Linked DNA regions of Homo sapiens: region 1 is linked to region 2. The links are contacts of gene promoters, found by promoter capture Hi-C in human tissues and cell types (Jung and others, 2019). All regions are on one chromosome and are shown on one strand. Each heading gives the region's core, a stretch centred on a gene start or on the middle of the fragment in contact. The rest is flanking DNA. Distances are from core to core; before and after follow the strand shown. Region 1 has its middle 3.6 kb from the start of MACO1. Region 2 holds the start of PAFAH2 (platelet activating factor acetylhydrolase 2).

Region 1 (5,044 bases), core at 2,058-4,557, 570 kb after region 2:
AGGAAAAAACACCAATGAGTCTCATCACATTAACACAAATACAGTTGACATTTTATTGTATTTGCTTGTTTTCCAATTTTCCCCTATGGATGATAATGTTACTATTGCTATTAAATAGAATAGTGGTCATACTAGAATAGTAGTCATACTAGAATAGTAGTCATACTGTTTTTAACATAAGCATTTTTACATGTTTTAATGCAGCTTTTATAAATATTTCTGAAAATATTGCAGAATGTCCTATCCAGTAGCTTTATCAGTGTAATCCCTCAACGACAATGGGGCAGTTAGTCTTCCAGTGCATTTTTAAAACTTCCCAGGAAGGGCTGGGCGCGGTGGCTCACGCCTGTAATCCCAGCACTTTGGGAGGCCGAGGCGGGTAGATCACGAGGTCAGGAGATCGGAGACCATCCTGGATAACATGGTGAAACCCCATCTCTACTAAAAATACAAAAAATTAGCTGGGCATGGTGGCGGGCACCTGTAGTCCCAGCTACTCGAGAGGCTGAGGCAGGAGAGCGAGACTTTGTCTCAAAAAAAAAAAAAAAAAAAAAACTTCCCAGGAAGTAGATGCCATTTTGTTTTGTCCTGGGTTTCACAGAACTCTCTCTGGCCTGTAATCACCCCTCCCTTAATCAACATCTACCCCAGGGAGAAACTTTACACCAAATGCGTTGTCCTCAATCATGACTCTGTGTTACTTTCTTCTGCTCACAAACCTTCAAAGATCTCCCAGTGCCTGGAAGAGAAAACCCATTCTGTTTCGAAGGGCATCCAGAGCTGGTCACAGTGGGGACCCACCCTCCTTTTCCAGGCTACGCCAGGCAAGCAAACCGTTTTTCTCACTATCCTTAAATCCACTGCAACCGATCTTTCCCCCTTCCTGCCTCTGCCCCAACACAGTATCTCTGTCAGTGCCGCTTCTGGTGTGTGGTTTCTTAGGCAAGGCTTATCCATCCACTTAGGCAAAAAGCTTCTTGGAGATCAAATCTATACCCTGCAGAGATACAGTTAAGAAAAATGGCCAAAGTACTTGCTTTTTCAGAGTAGGGCTGAAATTCTAGCTTGGCCACTTACTAGCTTGGACAAGTTACTAAATCTCTCACAGTCTGTTTCCACTCAGGTTTGTTTTAAGGCTTGGAGGACAATGAGCCTTCAGAGCCAGACAAGCAGTAGGTAACAGAAAGTAACTGCTGTTAGCAGTATACTTGTTTCTCATGCCTTAATTCTACTTCAGTATATTGATCAAGTGGCACCGGGTGGCCAAGAAAACAAACTCTGTGAGCTCAAAGTTTCACCAAGGCCTGCCCATCATTGAGAAAGGATATGAACAGAATGCTATGTGTGGAGCAGTAGAAAAAAGCCTTCAGCTGCCAAGGCAGATTGGTTCACTGAGGAAGATACAGGTGGGAACCAAATCAAAATGGAAGCTTAAAGGCGTTGGGGAGCGCAGGAACAGGTACATGGTAAAGTCCGGGCTCCAGCCTCCATGGGAACCCCAGACTTGAATATCCCTCATCCCCATGACTGCAGTGTTCCAGATTACCTGGGCCAGAGACTAAGTGGGATGGTTAGATGAGTAAGCCAAAGAAAAGATGAGAGGCACTGGGGACACATGCCAGCTTTCTGAGGCTCACTGTCTAGCCTACTATTAAATAGACCCTGACAGGGCATCTCATGCTGTGGCAAAAGTGCGGAGTGGCTGGGAGCAATGGAGGTTGTGGCTGAGAGTTACTGTTGAGCTCTAGGACTATGTGGAAGCAGAGAAAGGGCAGAGAAAATCTGAGGGTGATGGCTGACAAACAATCTGAAGGTCTGGAGGTCTAAGTTCCAATCCCAATTCACATGGCAACTCACTAGTGTCCTTGGTTGAGTCACCAGCCCACCCTGTGCCAAGATCTCCTCTGGAGGTGGTGCTTCTAGTTCTATGTTTAGAAGCAGATTGTGCTAGCTCCATTTTACAAATGAGAAAACTGAGGCTGAGAGGAAACAAGGTCACATAATAGGTGTGGTAGAGCAATCTAGCTCAAAGCACAAGCTGAGCAAGCTGTGGTGCCTGTATATAGCTATTGATGGGTAGAGTTGGGGTGAGATGATGGGAATGGCCTTCTTGCCAAGACCCAAGGAGAGGCCAGAGCAGGACTGCCCATCTCCATACTCTTCCTCTTTCACTCCTCCAGACCCAGCTCTTTTTTCCATGACCCACTCTAGCACAAGCCCTTTTGGCTCCAGCCAAGTGCCAGCCTTTTTCCTCTGAGTCCTGAAATGGCCCTTTGGGATTCTAAGGGCACAGAAGTGGGCCTCCTGCCAGAAGGCCCCAGCTCCCCACACCTTCACCAGTCAGGAAGCAGAGATCAGCAGTGGCCATTTTACAAATGAGTGAAACAAGGAAGGGAAGTAATTTGCCCTCATTCAAAAGACCAAGGCCTACAGAGGAATTTAGGCTTGTCCCTCCTTCTGGGACTTTCTGATGAAGGGATTTGCACTTGGGCTTCAGCTGAGCCCAGAACAGCTCTAGAGGCCAGATCATTAAACCCTGTTTCACATATAAGGAAATGGTATTCCCACCTCTGTCAGCCCGTTCAATCCCCGCAAGCCCACTAGCTGTCTTGAGCTTTGTTCCTGCCCTGTAAGAATCACAGAAAAGTCCAAACATTTCGATGGCCACCTCTTAACACATGTACCTGTATCCCCTAGAGAAACCTATTTTTTTTTTTTTTGAGATGGAGTCTTGCTCTGTCACCCAGGCTGGAGTGCAGTGGTGCATTCTCAGCTCACTGCAATCTCTGCCTCCTGGGTTCAAGTGATTCTCCTGCCTCAGCCTCCAGAGTAGCTGAGACTATAGGCACACGCCACCACGCCTGGATAATTTTTGTGTTTTTAGTAGAAATGGGGTTTTGCCATGTTAGCCAGGCTGGTCTCAAACTCCTGACCTTAGGTGATCCACCTGCCTTGGCCTCCCAAAGTGCTGGGGTTACAGGCGTGAGACACCACACCAGGCCAGAACCATGTTAATGGAAGATGTTCACTGTAGTGTTTAGAACAGGGCTAGTTTGGGAGAGGACTGACCAAACACTTTATCACATATCCTTACCATGGAAGTCAGTGTGGCATGGAGGATGATTATACACAGCACTAACTATGGCAGCCGCCACTCCAAGTATCAGATACATTTTGTTTTAATCCTCACAACAATCCTATGAGATAGAGATTACTAGCACCATATTACAGATGAGGACACTGTGGCACAGAGGAGTTAAGGCACTTGCCTAAGGTCACATAGTAACAGAGTTGGGAATTCAAATCCAGGCAGTCTGCTTTCAGTGCCTGGGCTCTTTAACCACCATGTTATATTGTTGTAGAAAGATTTTCCTGGCTTGGAAACTGCTTATGATATAGAGTTCATGAAAATAGCAAGTTACCAAACAGTATGTGCTGTGTAATCCCATTTTTGTAGGGAGAAAAACAAGGCCTAAATCGACAGGAATAGAAAAACATCTGAAAGGATATACACTCAAAACATAGTGCTGGTTTTTGGAGAGACTGAAATGGACATTTTATGTTAGCTTTATGCATCTGTATTTTCAAAGTTTCTACAGTAAACTTGCCAAGCTTGTGTGATAATCATAATTGCTAACATTTATGGAGTGTTTTCTACACATCTGACACTTTATGCACTGCCTCGTTGAATCTTCACAACAACCCAGTGAGATTGACACTGATTTTCTGCCTTTCCAGATGAGGAAACAGGCACAGAGACACTGACTGTTTTACCCAAGGTCACACAGCTCATTCCAAAGCCAGAATTTGAACCAGGTTGCCTAACTCCAAAGCTCATGTGTGTTAAATCAATGAACGACTGACTTAGCTGCACTTTAGCCAAACGTGCCCAGAGCAAGGTCACACCCTTGGCGTGGACACATTTCCAGGGAGGGACCGGAGGACCTCCTACCTCATTGGTCACTGCCAGTGACTGAGCTTGACTCAGGTAGGAGGGCATGGCAGGTATTCTCAGGGAGTCTGGTGTTTACAGAAAAGTCATGATTACACGTGAAAGCTGTGGGCTCCCTGGCTTGATTCACCACACCTGCAGGAAGCCTGGCTGCTCAGACCAGCACGCCGTGGACATAGCACCACTTGCTCAGCTTCATTTCCGTAACTCAGGCTGCCAGGCCTGCTGACAAATTTTCACGTTTGTAATAACCCTGTGAGGAGACCAGAGTACATCTTACTTGACTCATAAGGAAATTGAGACTGGGTGATTTAGTAACTTGGGAGGCAGAATTGCAAAGTGATTAGCAACACAAGCCATGGTGTCAGATGGATCTGGGTTAGGTCCCACCTCTGCCGTTTATTAGCTGTGTGGCTTTGGGTACTCACGCCACCTCTCTGAGCAGCAGTTTCCTCTTTTGTAAGCGTAATGATGCCTACACTCACAGGCTTGAGAGGAAGATCCGATGAAATAGCATATGCAAAATGATTGGTTCCGTGCTTGGCATTCCAGAAATGGTAGCTGTTATTCAGCCAACAAATATTTATTGAGCACCTACTATGGACTTCCCTGGTGCTGAGGATACAACAGCAACCACAGCAGTCAAAAGTCCCTGTCTTTATGTTGCTCAGATTCTCATAGGGGAAAGCAGATAATGAACAAATACACGGCCAGACGCAGTGGCTCACGCCTGTAATCCCAGTACTTTGCGAGGCCAAGGTGGGCAAGTCACCTGAGGTCAGGAGTTCGAGACCAGCCTAGCCAACATGGTGAAACCCTGTCACTACTAAAAATACAAAAATTAGCGCAGTGTGGTGGCTCATGCCTGTAGTCCCAGCTACTTGGGAGGCTGAGGAAGGAGAATCGCTTGAACCTAAAAGGCAGAAGTTGCAATGAGCCAAGATCGTGCCACTGCATTCCAGCCTGGGTGACAGAGTACTCCATCTAAAAAAAAAACCTAAATACACAAGTAAAAATATAGACTTCGTCAGATGCTAGTAAGTGCTGTGAAGGAAACTAAAAGGGGAACACAAGGAACCCTTGTCAAGGGGA
Region 2 (5,513 bases), core at 2,770-5,269:
CTCCCAAAGTGCTGGGATTACAGGCATGAGCCACGGTGCCCGGCCTAAAATTCTTTTTCTTAAAGAGAGCCCCCCAAAACTGTGTAAGTTTCAAGCCCCAAAACTTGGATCCATCCCGGCCCCCTCCCAAGTCCAAGCTGCTTAAGTAACCAGTGATCCATGTTTAGTTCATTGAACCCTTGAAACAATTCTATAATATAAATACTATTGTCATTCCAATTTACAGATGAGGAAACTGAGGCTTAGGGAATAGTCATTGCCCAAGTTCTCACAGTTAGTAAGTGGTAGAGCTGGGATTTAAATTCAGTAGCCTGTCTCCAGAGACCAGACCCTTCACTCCCTTCACTAGAGTGCTTGATAATGGTGTCTATTTGTTTTCTTGTCCATTTTTCCCCACTAACTAGGAAGTCCCCAAGGACACAAAGACAAATCATTTCTTTTTCTTTTTTCTTTTCTTTTCTTTTTTTTTTTGAGATGGAGTCTCACTCTGTTGCCAAGCTGGAGTGCAGTGGCAAGATTTCAGCTCATTGCAATCTCTGCCTCACAGGTTCAAGTGATTCTCTTGCCTTGGCCTCCTGAGATTACAGGCGCACGCCACCATACCTAGCTAATTTTTGTATTTTTGGTAGAGATGGGATTTCACCATGTTGTCCAGGATGGTCTTGATTTCCTGACCTCGTGATCTGCCCACCTCGGCCTCCCAAAGTGCTGGGGTTACAGGCGTGAGCCACCGCGCCCGGCCAAGACAAATCATTTCTACATGCCAAGCATACAGCCCAGAAGAGACGTCACCATATGTTGGGATGTAAGAAAGAGGAAAGTAGCCCCCAAAGTCCAGAGGCCAGCCTGACACTCACAGCCAGGACTTGGCCTTGTCCTGTTGAACATAAACAACTTCATAGAACATCAACAGCAGACAAGGCCACTCTGTGACTGTAATGGATCAAAACACAAATAGGACCACTCTGTCATCATGTCTGAACACAAACAAAAAATGGATATTGTCCAAACCATGAAAAAGACCAACCCCCCGTCCGTGCTAAAATGAGAGACTGCTGCTTCTTACCTATGACAGCTTTAGCCTTGGTCTAGCCTCCCCTCCTTCTAGATACATTTTATCAAGACCCCCAGTCATAGAATTACCCTTGCTCTTGACAGCATCCAATCCAAAGCCAAGCCCTGCTTCCTTAAACTCTCCCCAGATTGTCTAACAAAAGCCCAAATTCTGTAAATTCTTTCTTCCACCTTCCTACAGAAATGCACCCCCTTTGCCCTTATTTCCCCATTGCCTGCCTTCTCTCTTGCTGCAATGAATAATTAATACAACTTCTTTAATACAGGTGTGTTTCCGGTGGTCTTTGACTGGAATGGCATCGACACAAGTATCAGCTATCAGTGAGCATAAAATGTTATTATCAAAGTTAAAAAATGTTGCTTCTCAAAACTAGTTGATGATAAGAGACGGAAAGTAGTTGTTCCTTCTGGAGGATGGGTGGGGGTGATTGATTACAACTGAGAAGCCAACCTTTCAGGATATTGGAAACGTCCTACATTTTGAAGTAAATGGTAGTTATAGCAAATGTTTTTAAGAAGTTAAGCTGTATACTTTAGTGCCCATTACATACTTTATTGTATACCTATTCTACCTTTATTTTAAAAGTTTTGTCCACTGGTGGTGCGTGGTGGCTCACACCTGTAATCCCAGCACTTTGGAAGGCCAAGGTGGGCAGATTACTTGAGGCCAGGAGTCCAAGATCAGCCTGGCCAACATGATGAAAACCCATCTCTACTAAAAATACAAAAATTAGCCAGGTGTGGTAATGTGCCTGTAATCCCAGCTACTATGGAGGCTGAGATGGGAGAACTGCTTGAACCCAGGAGGCGGAGGCTGCGGTGAGCTGAGATCCCGCCACTGGGCCACAGAGCGAGACTCTGTCCCCCCCGCCCCCCTAAAAAAAAGGAAATCCAAAGCTGGTCACCCAAATACCAACTTGAAGCAATTTAGCAACAAAGTAAAGGCCAGAGTTGGGATGGTAGCTGATAGATTTGAAGGGAACTTTGGGCTACTGGAGGATGAGATCTATGATGAAAATGCTGGAAAATCAACCATTTGCTTAAAAAGGTAAAGGCATTTGGGTTGTTTATCCTAGAAAAGACCGGATTGGAAGGAAGTATAGTTAAACTCAACTGTTTTATTTTGCAACAGGGAAGAATCTGATTGTGCCCAAGGAAGAGCTTCCTAACTGTGACAAAGGAGGTAAAGGAGGTGGTGACATGCCCATCCCTGGGAAATTTTAAACTCAGCTGGCCAGCAAATGGCTCCAGCATGGCCTGGTCTGGGAGTAGGAGACTGAAAGAAATGACCTCCAGCTGTCCCTCTCATGACCAAGGACCTCTGGCTTGTCGTGAGTGTTCTGGCCAGCTGCACAGCACGGATTAATGGGCCAAAGGGAGCCGCTCTCTGATCTGCGCTAAGCTTTTCAGGTTCTGTGGCCACCGCCATCAGCCACAGATTTAATGAGATCCGAGGCTTAATTACCACAGTGCAGGGCTGCCAGCACTCTCTCCTGATGACTTTATCTTGGCTCCTGGAAGGATGGGGGTGACAACAGTGTGTCGGCAGGAGAGGAGAGCCTAAAGCAGGGACTCTGGACCCTGGTGTTTCGGGGGGATGTGGGCTGCAAGAGTAGGGTGGAGGGGGCGACTGCAGGACTCAGTACCTGACCTCAAAGAGCTCACAATGTGTCAAGAGTTAAGACCTCTAATACAGGAGATACCCAAGGCAGTGTGAGTCGACTCACATGTGCGAGGCACACACAGATGTCGGCGGAAACTTTGGAGGCATGAACAAAGCTCCCAGAGGAGGGGCGCTGAAGGGTGGGGGGTGGGGCGTGGGGGAGTGCAGGTTGGAGAAGACCTTGAATGTCAGGCTAAGCAGTTGGGACTTCACTTCATAGGTAGTAGAGGGCCGTTGAACGTTTTTGAGCTGCCTGAACGATCCAAATTTCCTATAGAAGTTTACAGAACTCCTGAGGATGGGCTCTGCCTAACGCCCACTCCCCCGAGAATACTCTCCTTCCATCCCTCACACTTAGCTGCAGCCAGCACTGAACTTAATGCCATACTCTGAAACGTCCTTCACAGTCTCTGTACTCCTGGCTACGTTCTTTCCTTATATCGGGTCTCAATGTTAACAAACATCACTCCCTCTAAAAAGCCTTGCGGACACCGCCCTTTTCCCCCAAGCCTGGCCAGAGGCCCCTTTTCAAGGCTCCCACGCTTGCTGTGTCTCCCCATGAGATCACGGCTCTGTGCTGTCATTATTCATTTGTCTGAATTCTCTGCTAGACTGTGATTCTGTTGAGGCTAGGAGCGGTATCTTGTCCATCAGTGTCGCTAAGAACCAGCATTAGACAGTAATGTGGGATGGATGCGGCCCAGCAGATTACTCGGGTTCCTCCCCTTTCTCTGCCAGGGAGTCTTTTGAGGACAATGGAAAATCACAGGTGTCAACAGATGCAGGCTGGTAGGGAATGTCCCCTTAATTTGAATGATCAGTCTATTATTCTTACAGGAAGCAAAGTGTGCAGAAGACACAAAACAAACTCCAACCTCCTCCCACCTCCTTGAGAATAAAGCGAAGCGGGGACCATTTCTAGGCACGCCTGAGGACTATTTGAGGAGGGTGAGGCGGAGGGTTACGCACGGGACTAAGGCAAAACCCTCCGCTCGAGAGCAGAAATCGCGGCGGCACCTCTTCAGGCCACCAGGGGGAGGAATCACACCGCATCCCAGGCCTTGGGCGGTTTCGCACGACCACGCGGGGCTGGACGGTCGCGTAGAACTCTGGGAGGTGTAGTTTTAGAGTTGTAATGCGCAATCTCGCGCACTGTACATCGGGAATTGTAGTTCTAGATTGAGGAACGAGAAGTGCTTCCAAGCGTCCATTTTGAGCCTTGGAAACTACGACGACCAAAGGGCCACGGGTTCATGGGTCGTTTCTCATTTCCGTCGAGTTAAACGTCTGGGGCTGCTTCTGAGGAATCAGCTTGACTGGGTAAGTTTGATTGGAGAAAACACCTATATCTCAATTGAGCTTCCTGCAGACTTTTGTATTCTGGCCCGGTTTGGGGCCTCGGCGTCTCTCAGTCATAGGAATTGCACATTAATCTTCGTCCTTTACGTTTCCTATTCAGACACCTGTAGCCACCCGCTCCCTTGACCCTCCCACGGTCGCCTCGCACTTTTAACGGCCAGTGCCCCTGGAATCCCCACTGAGCTCCCGTCCCAGGACCCAGCCCCCGCAGCCCCACCTTGGACCCCACAGCCCTACCCTGATTCCTCGGCCCTACCTTCACCCTGCAGCCTCACATCCCTGAACCCCGGGCTTCTTTATGCTCCTCCACCCTTTGTGTACTTTACTCTTACTCTCAGTTTTCTGTTTTTCATGGCGGTGGAAGAAGGGTCCCCATTCCTTCTTTCCGATCCGCGATTACCCTGGACTCGAAGTCAGCAGACCCGGTTCTAGGCCAGCTCTGCCTCTCACCCTCTGTGACCTTGGGCAAATCATACAACTCTGGGACTCAGTTTCTTCCTCTCTAAAACGGAGATGACTGTTGCTCCATCAGTCTCAGGTGAGGAGTGTTGAGGAGCCAACAAGCTAGTATGTGTGAAGATGCCTTGTAAACTGTAAGACCTTCACAAGAGACAGAGATTATTTTTATCACAATTATTAATGCTCTGGAACACTCTTATCAGGCCTCTTCTCTAGCTCTGCCACCTTGTTGCTCAATCTCATCCCTCGAGTGCTTGGTGTCTTCATTGTCTACGAGCTGGATGATATTTCCTCACTTCCTCCAGAGACCAAAGGTCAGGCCAATGAGCTTTTAGTCTTCAGAGAGCTTTGTCTGAAAGGAAGCACAAGAGAAGTGCTTATCTTGGACTGTATCTTGAAATAGCCAGTGATGAAAGTGTCACACAGCTGGCAGAGCAGCAGTCCTCTGCTCACCAGAAACAGGGTCCCAGCAGGAGAGGACAGCTGCAACCTAAGCCCCATCCATTCCCTCTGGGCTCCTCTGGGCCTGTTCAGTAGACACTGGCTTTGGTAGGGGTGTCTGAGGCCTGAAAAGGCTGCTGGGAAAGAATCTGTTTTGCCAAAGGGCTTAATCCAGGAAAAATGAGAGACCTTGGCTAGGAAAGAGAGACATAGCATTGTTAATTAGTTCCTAACATTTTATAAGCACTGAAAATGCACCAGGCCCTAGGCAATATTTTCACTTACGAAGTATCCATTTTACGTATAAGGAACTTGAGAGGCATGTAGTTAAAATAATTATAGTTGCCTCCTATGGTTATAGTACCTTCTATCCATCGAGTGCTTTACATGCATTATTTAATCCTCATCAACAATCTCGTGAGTAGTTACTATTTCTTTTTTTTTGAGATGGAGTCTCGCTCTGTCGCCCAGGCTAGAGTGCAGTAGCGCGATCTCGGCTCACTGCAAGCTCCGCCTC

What was found. The method cuts DNA at HindIII sites, captures the fragments that hold promoters and counts their contacts. A contact is called where the count stands out against the background at its distance.
Region 1: a fragment that was not itself captured here is called in contact with the fragment with the promoter of PAFAH2 in region 2 in 1 of the 25 tissues and cell types used here (aorta).

Annotation. Positions count from the first base shown.
Region 1 is chr1:25,424,733-25,429,776 of GRCh38, reverse strand. It overlaps a transcript of RHCE not described here. Among named protein-coding and RNA genes, the nearest start is that of MACO1, 3.6 kb to the left of the region's middle. The HindIII fragment of the contact is 4,210 bases long and covers 1,203-5,044 here.
Region 2 is chr1:25,996,569-26,002,081 of GRCh38, reverse strand. It overlaps PAFAH2 (platelet activating factor acetylhydrolase 2), which reads left to right and starts at 4,019. Exons shown (of 11, transcript NM_000437.4): 1 at 4,019-4,057. RefSeq lists enhancers at 3,874-3,923, 3,934-4,023, 4,194-4,273. The HindIII fragment of the contact is 6,472 bases long and covers 1-5,513 here.